Regions from separate parts of the Homo sapiens genome. Here region 2 is linked to region 1. Evidence: promoter capture Hi-C in human tissues and cell types (Jung and others, 2019). All regions are on one chromosome and are shown on one strand. The core of a region is centred on a gene start or on the middle of the fragment in contact, and the rest is flanking DNA. Distances in the headings are between cores, read along the strand shown.

Evidence for each region. The method cuts DNA at HindIII sites, captures the fragments that hold promoters and counts their contacts. A contact is called where the count stands out against the background at its distance.
Region 2: a contact is called between a fragment that was not itself captured here and the fragment with the promoter of DVL3 in region 1, in 1 of the 25 tissues and cell types used here (aorta).

What each region holds. Positions count from the first base shown.
Region 1 is chr3:184,151,933-184,158,916 of GRCh38, forward strand. DVL3 (dishevelled segment polarity protein 3) reads left to right here and starts at 3,445. Exons shown (of 15, transcript NM_004423.4): 1 at 3,445-3,864. The coding sequence starts at 3,704. RefSeq lists a silencer at 3,342-3,691 and enhancers at 4,029-4,906, 4,907-5,782. The HindIII fragment of the contact is 10,362 bases long and covers 1-6,984 here.
Region 2 is chr3:183,865,234-183,872,217 of GRCh38, forward strand. PARL (presenilin associated rhomboid like) reads right to left here. Exons shown (of 10, transcript NM_018622.7): 2 at 2,632-2,827; 3 at 1,392-1,532. Among named protein-coding and RNA genes, the nearest start is that of PARL, 16 kb to the right of the region's middle. The HindIII fragment of the contact is 7,346 bases long and covers 338-6,984 here.

The DNA.
Region 1 (6,984 bases), core at 2,195-4,694:
TTATCTAATAGCTTTGACTGAATGAACAAAATGTGTATTGAGAAACTATTAGATTACATGGGAAAAACTAATGATAGGTATAATATATTAAAACAAATGAAAACACAAGGCAATGATTAAAGTCAGAGGAAACAAAAAAGTTGTAAAGGAAACGATTATAAAACACACATGAGGCCAGCGCGGTGGCTCATGCCTGTAATCACAGCACTTTGGGAGGCCAAGGCAGGTGGATCACGAGGTCAAGAGATTGAGACCATCCTGGCCAACATGGTAAAACCCTGTCTCTACTAAAAATACAAAAATGAGTTGGGCAGGTATGGTGGCACATGCCTGTAATCCCAGCTACTCGGAGGCTGAGGCAGAATTATCGCTTGAACCCGGGAGGTGGAGGTTGCAATGAGCTGAGATCACATCACTGCACTCCAGCCTGGCGACAGAGTGAGACTCCATCAAAAACAAAAACAAAAACAAAACAAAAAAAACTCCACATGACTTAGCGGTGAACATTTGCTCATAGTCAAAATAAGGTCACTACTAAGTACTATATTGACTTAGCCAAAAAGTGTGCTTTCACTATTTTAAGAGGGAAGGGTAAGGTGGAAGACAGAGAATCATCAATCAAATTTGGAAATCAATAAGCAATGTCTAAAATGTATAAATCAAGAACAAGTATTATGAGCTAAAAAAAAGTACTAAGAGTGGTAGGGAAATAGGACAAAGAATTGCTCGGGTTTTTTGTTTTGTTTTTCTCACCACTATACCAATAAGGAGGACTGCTGTTTTGTTAAAAAGCTTTTTAAGGGCCAGGCACGGTGGCTCACACCTGTAATCCCAGCACTTTGGGAGGCCGAGGCAGGCAGATCACGAGATCAGGAGATCGAGACCATCCTGGCTAACACGGTGAAACCCCATCTCTACTACAAATGTAAAAAATTAGCCAGGTGTGGTGGCAGGCACCTGTAGTCCCAGCTACTCGGGAGGCTGAGGCAGGAGAATGGCATGAACCCGGGAGGCGGAGTTCACAGTGAGCCAAGATCGTGCCACTGCACTCCAGCCTGGGCGACAGAGCAACACTCCATCTCAAAAAAAAAAAAAAAAAAAAAAAAAAAAAAAAAAAGCCGGGCGTGGTGGCTTGCGCCTGTAGTCCCAGCACTTTGGGAGGCCGAGGCAGGTGGATCACGAGTTCAGATCAAGACCATCCTGTTTAACACAGTGAAACCCCGTCTCTACTAAAAAAAACACAAAAAATTTGGCGGGCGCCTGTGGTCCCAGCTGCTCGGGAGGCTGGCGTGAACTCAAGAGGCGGAGCTTGCAGTGAGCCGAGATTGTGCCACTGCACTCCACCCTGGGCGACAGAGTGAGACTCCATCTCAAAAAAAAAAAAAAAAAAAAAAAAAAAAAGCTGTTTAAATACTATTTGACTTCCAAACATATTACTTTGATAAAAAATGTAAAGAAGGTGAAGGAAAGGGTATGAAGTGACGATATACATAAGGTGTGTGCAGGGGCTAGCAAGTGGGTTCATTTTCCTGGAGTCAAAAATTTGGCCAGGATATGAGACAAAAGGCTGTAAAAGTAGGTAGAGGTTAGATTATGGGGGGCCTTGAATAGGGATATTTGGGGGCTTTGGGGAATGTGGAAAGGTTTCTGAGTAGAAGAGGTATCTGAATGATGTTGTTATTCTAGTGTTAATTTGGCAACAGTGTATAAAATGGAGTAGAAGGAGCCCATACTTAAGACCATAGCATCCAAGGCCCTATGTAATCTGGCGGGTCTATGTTTCCAGCCTCACCTAGGACTGTTCCTTTAGTCATGATGGCCTTCTTATTCCTCAAATGTAACATGTTTATTCCTGCCTTGAGCCTGTATATTGGCTGTGCCCTCTGCCTAGAAGGCTGTCACCCCAGATCTTCTCATAGCCACTTCATCCTTGCTATTTCTAGGTCTTTTTTTCTGGAAGAAGTTTTCTCTAACCAATCAGAAACCTCTTTCTCGTTTTGTTTTGGTTGTTTTGTTTTTGTTTTTGTTTGAGGCGGAGTCTCGCTCTGTCGCCCAGGCTGGAGTGCAGTGGTGGGATCTCGGCTCACTGCAAGCTCCACCTCCCGGGTTCAAGCGATTCTCCTGCCTCAGCCTCCCGAGTAGCTGGGACTACAGGCATGCGCCACCATGTCCAGCTAATTTTTGTATTTTTACTAGAGACGGGGTTTCACCATTTTGGCCAGGCTGGTCTCGAACTCCTAACCTCAGGTGATCCACCTGCCTCAGCCTCCCAAAATGTTGGAATTACAGGCATGAGCCATTGCGCCTGGCTTCCCCTGTCACTATCCCATCACTTTGTTTTACCTTCTTCATAGCAGTGGTCACTCTGAAGTTATGTATTTACAAGCCTATGTGCTTCCCTCCAGCTGAGGGAAGGTCCTGAGAGCAGCCTTGTCTGTCTCGCTATCGCTATATCTCATGCGATATGCCTTATACACAGTAGGCCTTCAGTATTTATTAAATGAATTAAAAGTTAAGGGGTGAGGAGATCTGTGAGGAACCGGCTATACCTAGTTCTGGAGTTCTGGTTTGAGACTTACTGTCTTAGGCATGCATGCATCCACTTATCTTTTTTTTTGGGGGGGGGCGAGGGGGGATGGAGTTTCACTTTTGTTGCCCAGGCTGGAGTGCAAAGGCAGGATCTCGACTCACCGATCTCGGCTCACCGCAACCTCCGCCGCCCGTGTTCAAGCGATTCTTCTGCCTCAGCCTCCCGAGTAGCTGAGATTACATGCATGCGCCACCACGCCCGGCTAATTTTTTTGTATTTTTAGTAGAGACAGGGTTTCTCCATGTTGGTCAGGCTGGTCTTGAACTCTCGACCTCGGGCGATCCGCCCGCCTTGGCCTCCCAAAGTGCTGGGATTAGAAGCGTGAGCCACCGCGCCCGGGCCCCACTTATTCCGCATTCAACCCATTTATTAAACCACTACCTTGCAACTGGACGCTAAGGTTATAGGGAGGAATCAGAACTGGATGCTGTCCTTCTCTCGAGATCAGTTTAGTAGACTCAGTGACAGCAGTTGTGCTTCTCAAGAAACACTGAAGGGCCATGTTGAGGTCATTCTCCTCCAGGGATCCAGAGTCAGACCCACCCTCTTTCCCCAGACCATTTCTGGGGACCAAAGCAATCCCTGCATTCCACTCTTCCTGGACTGCAGAGGAGTCGCCGATCCCACTTGGGTCCGGAGTCAGGGCCTTCAGGGGTCCGGGAACGCCGCCATCCCGGTGAATCTCCCCTTCCGTTTCTAGGGACCCGGGACCGGAGCGCCGCGGCCCGGCCAGTGGGCGGGAAACCCTGCCATCTGCCGCGACGCCGGCGCCTCTCCGCGGCGGCCGGGGGCGGGGCGCGCCGGGGCGGGGCCGCGCCGGGCCGGAGGAGGGGAGCGGGCCCGGACGAAGCCCTGGGCCGGGAGGGCCGCGGCCACCGGAAGAGTCGCGGTCGCCAGTCCAGTCGGGAGAGTGGGGAGCGGAAGCGGCGGCCGCGGCGGCGGCGGGCGGCGCTGGGACCCGGTAGCGGCCGGAGAACAAGGGAGCTGGCGCCGCCAGCAGCCGCCGAGCTGGGTTGAGCCGCTGGGCCGCGCCGCGCGCCGCCGCCGTCTGGGAGGCTCGGCCCGGCCGCCCGAGCAGGCCGCGCGCGGGCCGCCGGGCCCGAGGCCAGAGCCATGGGCGAGACCAAGATCATCTACCACTTGGATGGGCAGGAGACGCCGTACCTTGTGAAGCTGCCCCTGCCCGCCGAGCGCGTCACCTTGGCGGACTTTAAGGGCGTTTTGCAGCGACCCAGCTATAAGTTCTTCTTCAAGTCTATGGACGACGATTTCGGGTGAGGATGGCCCCCGCCCCGCCTCCGGGAGCCCCGGCCGCTCTGGCTTCTAAGGGATGACGCGGTCCGTTTCGACTTGCCTCGCTACACCGGCTCCTAGCCCCGCTCTGACTTCTAGGGGCGACTCGGCCCATTTGGGCCCCTTTGGTTCCAGCCCCAGTAGCAACTCCCGTTTACCTCTGAAGAGGGGACGTTGGCCTCCCTTGTTTAAGGGGACGTCCAATTCCCCACTAGCAATCAGAGTTCCTGCCGGTGCGGTCCCCTTACCTCTTCAGAGACCAGTGGCCCACAGAGACAGACACACCCCCCCTCCACCTAGTTTCAGAGCCCGAGTCCCCCATCCTCCTCCTGCCGAGGAGCCAGAGCCACCTTTTTCCGCACAGACTTGGGTCGTGTGGCCCTCGTTCTTCGCCCCCTTCATCTTTTCAGCAGCACAGCTCCCAGCCATATTTGGAGTATGCTGCATCTGAGGGCTCTGCTGGGACTTTGAGCTGGGGGAGGGGTGTCGGGGGTGCTCGGGCGCCTGGCCGCGAGCGGGGTCTGCAGATCTGATGTTTATCTAGCTGCCTGCCCTCTCCTTTGTGGGCTGTTGTGGGTGTTGTCACCGGAACAGAGAGCCTGACCCCTGCGGAGTAGTCCTCACTGACCCAGGTGCTGATCTTTCCTCCAATTCGGGCTTTTTTCCTCCAGTTGGTGGCCAGTGGAGAGACGTTAGGAAGGGCCTGGGGCCTGGGTGGGATAGCCAGGAAGAGTTTCTTGGTGTTCTCTATCTTCCCCTCCCTGGTGGGGTCTTCCCTTCCACCCAGCTGCAGAGATCTGGACAGGCACAGTTTGGAAGCAGTCACTTTCCCTTTAAGAGGGGATGGAATGTTGGAGCCGGAAGGTTCTGAAGCAGCTGGCCTGGGAAGAGGGGGGCCTGGCTGATCCCCCTCGAACCCCCCCAACTCCCAGGAGACTGGGGGAGGGGGAGGCGCCCACACTTGCCTGCCGCCTCACTAACTGGGCGCTGGGCCTGGAGGCGGTGGGGAAGGCCCCTCCAGGCCTGAAGGCTGCCTCTCCAGCCCTAGCCTGAGGCCTGCACTGCTCTTTGGAGCTGAGGCCCCACAGCCAAGAGGAGACATTCTTCTCCCCAGTGTTCATCTGTCTGGCTTCTCTCCCAAGCCCCTGGCCCACCTAGCACTAGGAAGCAAGCACCTTCTGTCTAATGCCTGGCATGTTTTGCTGTCACCTTCTGCCCTGGAACTCAGGGTTGGATGAGCCCCTGAAATCATGTGTGTGAGAGTGCTTTGTACAGTGGGCAGTGCTTTGTAGATTCTAACTATTCTTGTTTCTGTTGTTGTTCCTGCCCTGGGGTGGGGTGCTCCTGGTGTGATAATGATTGTCTGCCTTCAGCCCAGAGACAGACACCTCTAATTGGAAGATTCTGAGGAGGGATGGATCTAGAAGGGGTCTGGGTGAGGGGGTGGATACTTTGGCCTGGCAAGAGAAGAATAGGGTTAGAAGGGATCAAGCTACTGCCTCCACATAAGGAATGGGGGAAGATGAGCCAGAGTCCAGTGCCCTGGGGCCACCTCAGATCCAGATGCCTTGAGGGACTAAGATAGGCTGTCTCTCCACCCTGTACTTATCTCCAGACCCACTGGACCTGGCCCCTGCCTCCTAAGCCTGGACAACTCTGGGCTGCTCTCCCAATCCCAAGGCCTAACTGCAGTTTTAAGAGGGCCCCCATTACATCCAGTCACTGTTACTTAATATTTTTCTTTAAATCCATTGTCAGTCCACTTACTGTTTTTCTTAGCTTGAACCAAGCAATAATATGAAACCATAGGTCTGACTTTTCTGTTTATATTTCTTTCTAAAATATGTTTAACATAAATATTTAATGATTGAACTAAGCAATGTTAATCTGTGTGCCACCTGAAGCCATCTTGCAAACATCAGTGGTACTTGAACCAAAATCAGAGTTGGACCATTTTAGCAGGGTTGAAAACAGTATTAAAAATGAAGTGGAGGAGATGGATTCTGTTTGTATCCCCAGAAGGATAAATGAGCAGGGGAACTGATAGAGCTGTCTTGTCACAGAGGACTAATAGCTGAAGAGCATATATATATGTTTCATTTATTTAACACACGCCTTTTATGCTTAGTGTGCCAGGGACTAATCTAAATGCTTTTCAAATCTTCACTCATTTAATCTTCGAAACAGCCTTATGAAATAGATAGCGTAATAGTATCTCTAGTTTACAAATGAAACTCTGTCAGGCATGGTGGCTCACACCTGTAATCTCAGCAATTTGGGAGGCTGAGGTGGGAGGATTGCTTGAGGCCAGGAATCTGAGACCAGCCTTGGCAACATAGCAAGACCCCATCTCTACAAAAAAATTTTTTAATTAGCCAGGCATGATGCTTTGTGCCTGTAGTCCCAACTTGGGAGGCTGAGACAGGAGGATCACTTGAGCATAGGAGTTTGGGGCTGCAGTGAGCTGTGATGGTGCCACTGTACTCCAGCCTGGAAAATAGAGTGGGACCGTGTTTCAGAAAAAAAAAAAAAAGGAAACTAGAGCACAGAAAGCTTAAGTAACTTGCCTAAGGTCACACAGCTAATAAGAGGCAGAGCAGAGCTTGCTTTGACATCAGGAATCTGGATCCAAAAATCTAAATCCTTAATCGCACAATTTTAGGTGTCATTATTATCACCATTTTACTGATGAATCCTCTCCGAGGGAGGTGGTAAGCCTTGGAAAACTGTAGAGGTGACAAGGCCACCATTTCTCCGAGCCCCACAAGAGGAAGGTCAGGCGGAGGTCAGTGACCCTAGAGGAAGGAAAGTGGGTCAGAGGAGGAAGGCTGCTGTCTCTCCAGTTTCTCCACTCCTGGCTCAGCCTTTGAGGTGCTAGTTGTGAGGCTCCTCAAGTCCCATCTGGTCTACAAAAGTATTTGTCAAGCTCAGGGTAGGCCCAGCCATCTTTTTAAATTTTTTTTCTTTTTTTTTTTTTTTTGAGGAGTTTTGCTCTCGTCACCCAGGCTGGAGTGCAGTGGCGCAATCTCGGCTCACTGCAACCTTCGCCTCCCGGGTTCAGGTGATTCTCCTGCCTCAGCCTCCCAAGTAGCTGGGATTAC
Region 2 (6,984 bases), core at 2,761-5,260, 290 kb before region 1:
GGAGTTTGAGGCTTCAGTGAGCTATGATCCCATTACTGCACTGAGGCCTAGGTGACAGAGTGGGACGCTGTCTCTTAGAAAAAAAAATCACTTGCTAGCTCTATCCCTAAGGCATGTATATTTTGAAAAATTCCCTGCAGTTCAAATACGTACTCTAAAGCCAGGGTCCCCAACAACCCGGCTGCTGACCACTAGTGGTCCGTGGCCTGTTAGGAACTGGGCCACACAGCAGGAGGTGAGCAGTGGGAGAGCATTACCACCAGAGCTCTGCCTCCTGTCAGATCAGTGGCTGCATAAGATTCTCACATGAATGCAAACCCTACTGTGAGATGCACATGTGAGGGATCTAGGTGGCACGCTCCTTATGAGAATCTAATGCCTGATGATCTGAGGTGGAACAGTTTCATCCCATAACCATCTGCCCCCCTGCAACCCCGACCTGTGGAAAAATTGTCTTGCACAAAACCAGTCCCTGGTACCAAAAAGGTTGGTGACTGCTGCTCTAAAGCAATCCATCAAGGTGATCCAAGTAAAACAGTGGCCTTTAAACTTTAGTAGAGCTGAGATCCACTGAGATCCTTAAACTTTAGTAGAGCTGAGACATCCTCCACGCAGAAACATTAACAACTATTAACATTAATTTCTTTTCTTTTTTTTTTTTTTTGAGATGAGTTCTCGCTCTGTCACCCAGGCTGGAGTGCAGTGGCACAATCTCGTCTCACTGCAACCTCTGCCTCTTGGGTTCAGGCGATTCTCCTGCCTCAGCTTCCTGAGTAGCTGGGGCCACAGGCATGCACCACCACGCCTGGCTAATTTTTGTATTTTCAGTAGAGATGGGATTTCACTATGTTGGCCAGGCTGGTCTCCAGCTCCTGACTGCCTTGGCCTCCCAAAGTGCTAGGATTATAGACTTGAGCCGCTGTGCCCGGCCAACGTTAACATTTTTAACAACTATCCGTGGTGATTTTTGATGCATGTGGGTAGAGGGACAGAATTCTGGAACACTGTTAAGTACAACACCAGATATATAAAACAGTAATCAATACTTACTGTGAAGAATATTAAGTGCACTGACTTGACATCTATTAATCTGATGTTGCCATTAACTAAAAGCACTTCATAAATAACCAGGCTTCAAAACCTGGGATTACCAGTAGAGTAACTACAGTCAACTATAATCTATAGTACATTTCAAAATAGCTAGTGGAGAACAATTCAAATATACCTAGCATAAAGATAAATGTTTAAGGTGATAGATATTCAGTTCCTCAGATTTCATTATTACACATTATGTGAATGCATCATGTACACTGAAAACACGTGCATCTATTAAGTATCAGTTTTTTAAAACCGTGATTAACTAGAAGAAAGAAAGCAGTGTTTATCTTTACCTCCTTTCTGAAGTCTCCTTCTTTTTGTGGTCTTATGCTATCCAACCAATCAGCTTTTATACCATCAAAATAACTCTGGACCCTGGATTTCAGTGATTCATATTGCCAAATAGCAGCTGATCCAAATGCACAGCCTGTAAACTATATAAAATTAGATATATTACAAAATAGATTTAAGAGGGAAATAGATCTATACATTATTTCCAAGGAGAATTCTTCACTGTCATTGCTTTTTACAAACCAACAGAAGGGAATACTTGGCACAGTGAAACCTAATAAGTGAAAAGGGCTTTTTTTTTTCTTTTTGAGATGGAGTTTCACTCTTGTCTCCCAGGCCAGACTGTAATGGTGCGATATGGGCTCACTGCAACCTCTGCCTGCCAGGTTCAAGTGATTCTCCTGTCTCAGCCTCTGGAGTAGCTAGGATTACAGGTACCTGCCTCCAGGCCCGGCTAATTTTTGTATTTTTAGTAGAGACGGGGTTTCATCATGTTGGCCAGAGGGGTCTCGAACTCCTGACCTCAGGTGATCCACCCACCTTGGCCTCCAGTGCTGGGATTACAGGCATGAGCCACTGTGCCTGGCCAAAAAGGACATTTTATTGTTTCCCATTGTATTAACTTCACAATACCCTGGGGCCTGTTTCCAGCTATAAATCCTCAAATAAAACTGAAAATACCAACTTAGCACCGCTTGAAATGCTGTACCAAACAAGGCCCATATGTTTATTCTCTAGGGCTTACATAAGTAAGCCAGAATTTAATAATAAAAGCAATTTTTAAGTTCAGACTCTAGGCCGGGCGCAGTGGCTCACTCCTGTAATCCCAGAACTTTGGGAGGCCAAGGCGGGCGGATCATGAGGTCAGGAGATCGAGACCATCCTGGCTAACAAGGTGAAACCCCGTCTCTACTAAAAATACAAAAAATTAGCCAGGCGTGGTGGCCAGTGCCTACAGTCCCAGCTACTTGGGAAGCTGAGGCAGGAGAATGGTGTGAACCCAGGAGGTGGAGCTTGCAGTGAGCCGAGATCGCGCCACTGCACTCCAACCTGGGCGACAGAGTGAGACTCCGTCTCAAAAAAAAAAAAAAAAATTCAGACTCTATAATTAGAATTCATGAGCCCAGCTCTTTTTGATCCCCCCTCTACCTGTCCTTACTTTAAGGGAGCCCAAATGGGACAAAGTACTTTAACACTGCATTTCTAGCAAGGTAGGTAACTCCTAGCAAAGTGAGCTCTTACCCCAACAGTAAAAAATAAAGGTTTTATGAGACTCCTTATAGGATAGGGAGAAGGATAAAAGACTGTTTCTTCCACAGGAGGAATCAAAGCACTTCTCTTGTATGCTTCACCACTTGTCCCTGGGTCTGATCTTCGAGGTTCAACCTTCCTGGGTGCTTTTCTGAATCCGCATTTTTGTTGAATAAAGAAGTTAAACCTATGGGGCAAAAATAACAGATGAGAAACACAGTAGCGTCTTGCAAATATCAACTTCTATGAACCTCCACTTGGCCTGCATCATCACCATCTCAATTTATTCTCACTCTACAGTCCAAAAACAGCCAAGACTCCTACTCTCAGACAGAATTCAAAGCCACAAAATTCAACCTTTCTGGAAAAGGTGACACACAAACTACAGCAACTTCAGAGGATACTACTTTGGGCTATTACTTTCTATCAGTCAACAAAATAATTTGTATCCATTCTCCACACAGAAAGAATCTGAAGACCTGGTAAAAAGCTAGAGAACTCTATAAATTGTCCGTTTCTTTTTTTTTTTTTGAGACAGGGTCTCCCTCCGTCGCCCAGGCTAGAGTACGATTACTCCCTCCCTCTGTCGCTCAGTGGTACGATCATGGCTCACTGCAGCCTCCACGTCTCAGGCTCAAGCGATCCTCCTGCCTCAGCCTCCCAAGTAGCTGGGACTACAAGCGTAGGCTACCACATTGTTAATTTTTGTACCTTTTGTAGAGATGGGGTTCTGCCATGTTGCCCAAGCTAGTCTCAAACACTTGGGCTCACACAATCCTCCTGCCATGGCTTCCCAAGGTGCTAGGACTACAGGCATGAGCCATGGTGCCCCACCAGTTGTCAGTTTCAGTCAGAATGACTTCTGGTTTTTTGTTTAAAGTTTGGTCAATTTCTGGAACAAATATTTAAATGTATTGTCCTTGAAGCCACTCCAAATTCAATAATTATTTTCTTTTCTAAGTATTGCCCATTATAAATTAAAACACTCCTCTCACCTCTCCCCTTTATTTCACTGTTTTGGGGACATCCACCAAATTATTTGTGAGCTGTTACCCCAACAGTTAAAAAAAAATTTTGTTGTTTGAGTCTACAGCTTGACTTCCTCAAAATATCTAACACTACTGATCATGCCTCCTAGTCCTAGCTTCTGTAACAGCACTTCCTACTCTTCAAATTCATCTTTAACTCCCGGTATCTTCCCCTTTTCCTCTACCCCATTCAAACTCAACCCATATAAATTCTTGAAACAGTCTTCTTTTTCTTTTGTAAAACTGTAACTTTCCCAGGTCACAAAGTAAAGATCCCTTTCTGTTTGTACCCTGAACATATTATCCCTTCTTATAATTATTCTGAGACAGAGTCTTATTCTGCCACCCAGGCTGGAGTACAATGACATAATCTTGGCTCACTGCAACCTCTGCCTCCCCAGATGCAAGTGATTCTCCTGCCTCAGCATCCCTAGTAGCTGGGATTATAGGCACCCACCACCACACCTGGCTAATTTTTGTATTTTTAGTAGATATGGGGTTTCACCATGTTGGTCAGGCTGGTCTCGAACTCCTGACCTCAGGTGATCCACCCGCATTGGCCTCCCAAAGTGCTAGGATTACAGGCATGAGCCACTGCGCCTGGCTATACCTTATTATTATAAGGGATAATAATGTATATTATTATTATTAAGGGATATTATGATATCCCTTCTAGAAGGGATAGTATGTTCAAAGATATTATATATATAACGAACAATATTCAGTGAGGAATATCATAACATATTATCCCTTCTACTAGCCTCAAAGCTCCTCAAAAGCAGAGCTCGGGTAGGTCTTTTGTCTTTGTATCCCAGCCCCTAAAACAAGCTATTTGGTTGAATTTTTGTGACCTGAATGACTTCTAAGCATGTAAATGATTCAAATTTATTTTAGTCCTAACCTGAACTTTCTACTCCAGTATTTCCAACTCTATACTGAATAATGCTACTTGGATATGCTCCCCATTACTTTAAAACCAATATATTCAAAATAGAATTAACTCATTCTCCTCTACAAACACCTCCATTTTCTGACGTACTCTTTCAATAAGACCACAGTTCTCTCAGTTACTGAGGTTAAAAATCTAGGCTGGGGGCCGGGCACAGTGGCTCACGCCTGTAATCCCAGCACTTTGGGAGGCTGAGGCAGGTGGATCACGAGGTCAGGAGTTTGAGACCAGCCTGGCCAATATGGTGAAACCTCGTCTCCACTAAAAATACAAAAATTAGCCAGGTGTGGTGGTGCACACCTGTAGAGTCCCAGCTACTCGGGAGGCTGAGGCAGAAGAATCGCGTGAACCTGGGAGGCAGAGGTTGCAGTGAGCCAAGATCACACCACTGCACTCCAGCATAGGTGACAGAGTAAGACCTTGTCTCAAAAAAAAAAAAATCTAGAAGTCATTTTGGAGTTATCTTTCCTTTATTCTTATTCAATTAAAAGCCAACTCTATCAAAAATACTTTTAAAATTCCTAGTCTAGTCCTTTATCTCATACCTGGATCATGGCAACACTTTCCTTAACTTCAAACACTTTAACCTGTTGCATGTTCTTCTGGCCTCACACTGCTTTTCCTCCACATTCTATAGTTTCTCAAATGTCCTCTCAGAGGGCCAAAAATCTCTTCCTAATTCTAATGCAACTCCTTAGCTCATCCCTTCTGGCCTGGAATACGCCACCATTTCCTAGCAGATCTCCTTGCTTCCAGTACTGCCCCACTCCAAGTGCATCCTTCACATTGTATTAAGCACAAATGTAATGTTCCCTTGCTTTAAACCCCACAATAACTTTTCATCACCCCATCAAACTCAGCACACATCCCTTCAATCCGACCCCTTCCTCTCTCTTGCCACTTCCTCCCTCTGCCACCTCAAATCCTCTCTATACCTGTTATACTGACTTTCTTGCAGTTCCTATGATCTGTTTTGCTCTCTTAACTACGACAATGCTACTCATATTTTGGTATATACTTCCCTTTAACTTTTTTGGGCCCTTCAGATTTCAGTTAATATATCTCCTCCTCCAGGAAGTCTTCCCTAGCTGCCCCAGGCTGGGTACTTCTCTCCTTTGCACTTCTAGAGTTCCAAAGCAGTTTTTTTAATACTTATCTCCACTACTGCCCACGCCCCCATTAGATTACAGTTTTATATTCATTATATCTCTATCACCAAGTCTAGTCCCTAATAAAAGGTCAATAATTATCTGTCAGAATAAAAAAGGGATCAAAAAATGATTAAGCTTTATTGTGAGTAACTCAAAGTAAGATGGTACTATACTCAAAGTAAGGTGGTACTATACTCAAAGTAAGGTAGTACTATACTGAAAGTAAGGTGGTACTATTCTCAAAGTAAGGTGGTACTATACTCAAGGTGGTACTATACTCAAAGTAAGGTGGTACTATATTCAAAGTAAGGTGGTACTATTCAATAAGATAAGGAAAATTGGAAGCCTCAAAATAGGCAACTGGGAGATAAGAGACGAACAATTCCAGCTGGGGTGCTGTTTAAAATGCTTGCAGTCATGGCAGCTTCATTCCTCTAGCTAAAAACTGAAACTTAAATTTCCATTAACAGGAGAAATTCTGTGGTATATTCATATAATGGAATATTACACTTGGCCAAAAAAAAAAAAAAAGGCTTGGGGGGGAGGGGTGGGGAAGAACTAATCATACATCATGGATAACTCTCAAAAACACTTTTGGCAAAAGAAGTAAAATACAAAAGAGTACATGATATGTGATTCTGTGACTTCCATTGCTAAGAAGTTGACAGACACACTAACCTGTAGTGATAAATATTAGATGAGCGATTGCCTGGAATGGGTGGGGCTTGACAGGAAAGGAGCAAGAGGAAACTTGCTGGGATGACGGCCATCTTTATCTTGATTTAGGTGATAGTCACACAGGTGTATACATTAATCAGAATGCACTGGCTGTATATTTAATACTTATACATTTTACTATATGTAAACTGTATCTCAATAAAGTATTTAAAAGAATGCTCATAGGACATCCAGGTGGAGGTATCTTAATAGGCATTTTGGAAATAAATGAAACTCAGAATAATAGCATAGCTACTACTACTATTACTTGCCTAGAATGCATTTTTTTTTTTTTTTTTTGAGATGGAGTTTCGCTCTTGTTGCCCAGGCTGGCATGCAATGGCGTGATCTCAGCTCACTGCAACCTCCACTTCCCAGGTACGAGCGATTCTCCTGTCTCAGCCTCCCAAGTAGCTCGGATTACAGGCATGTACTGCCACACCTGGCTAATTTTTTTGTATTTAGTAGAGACGAGGTTTTACCACGTTATTCAGGCTGG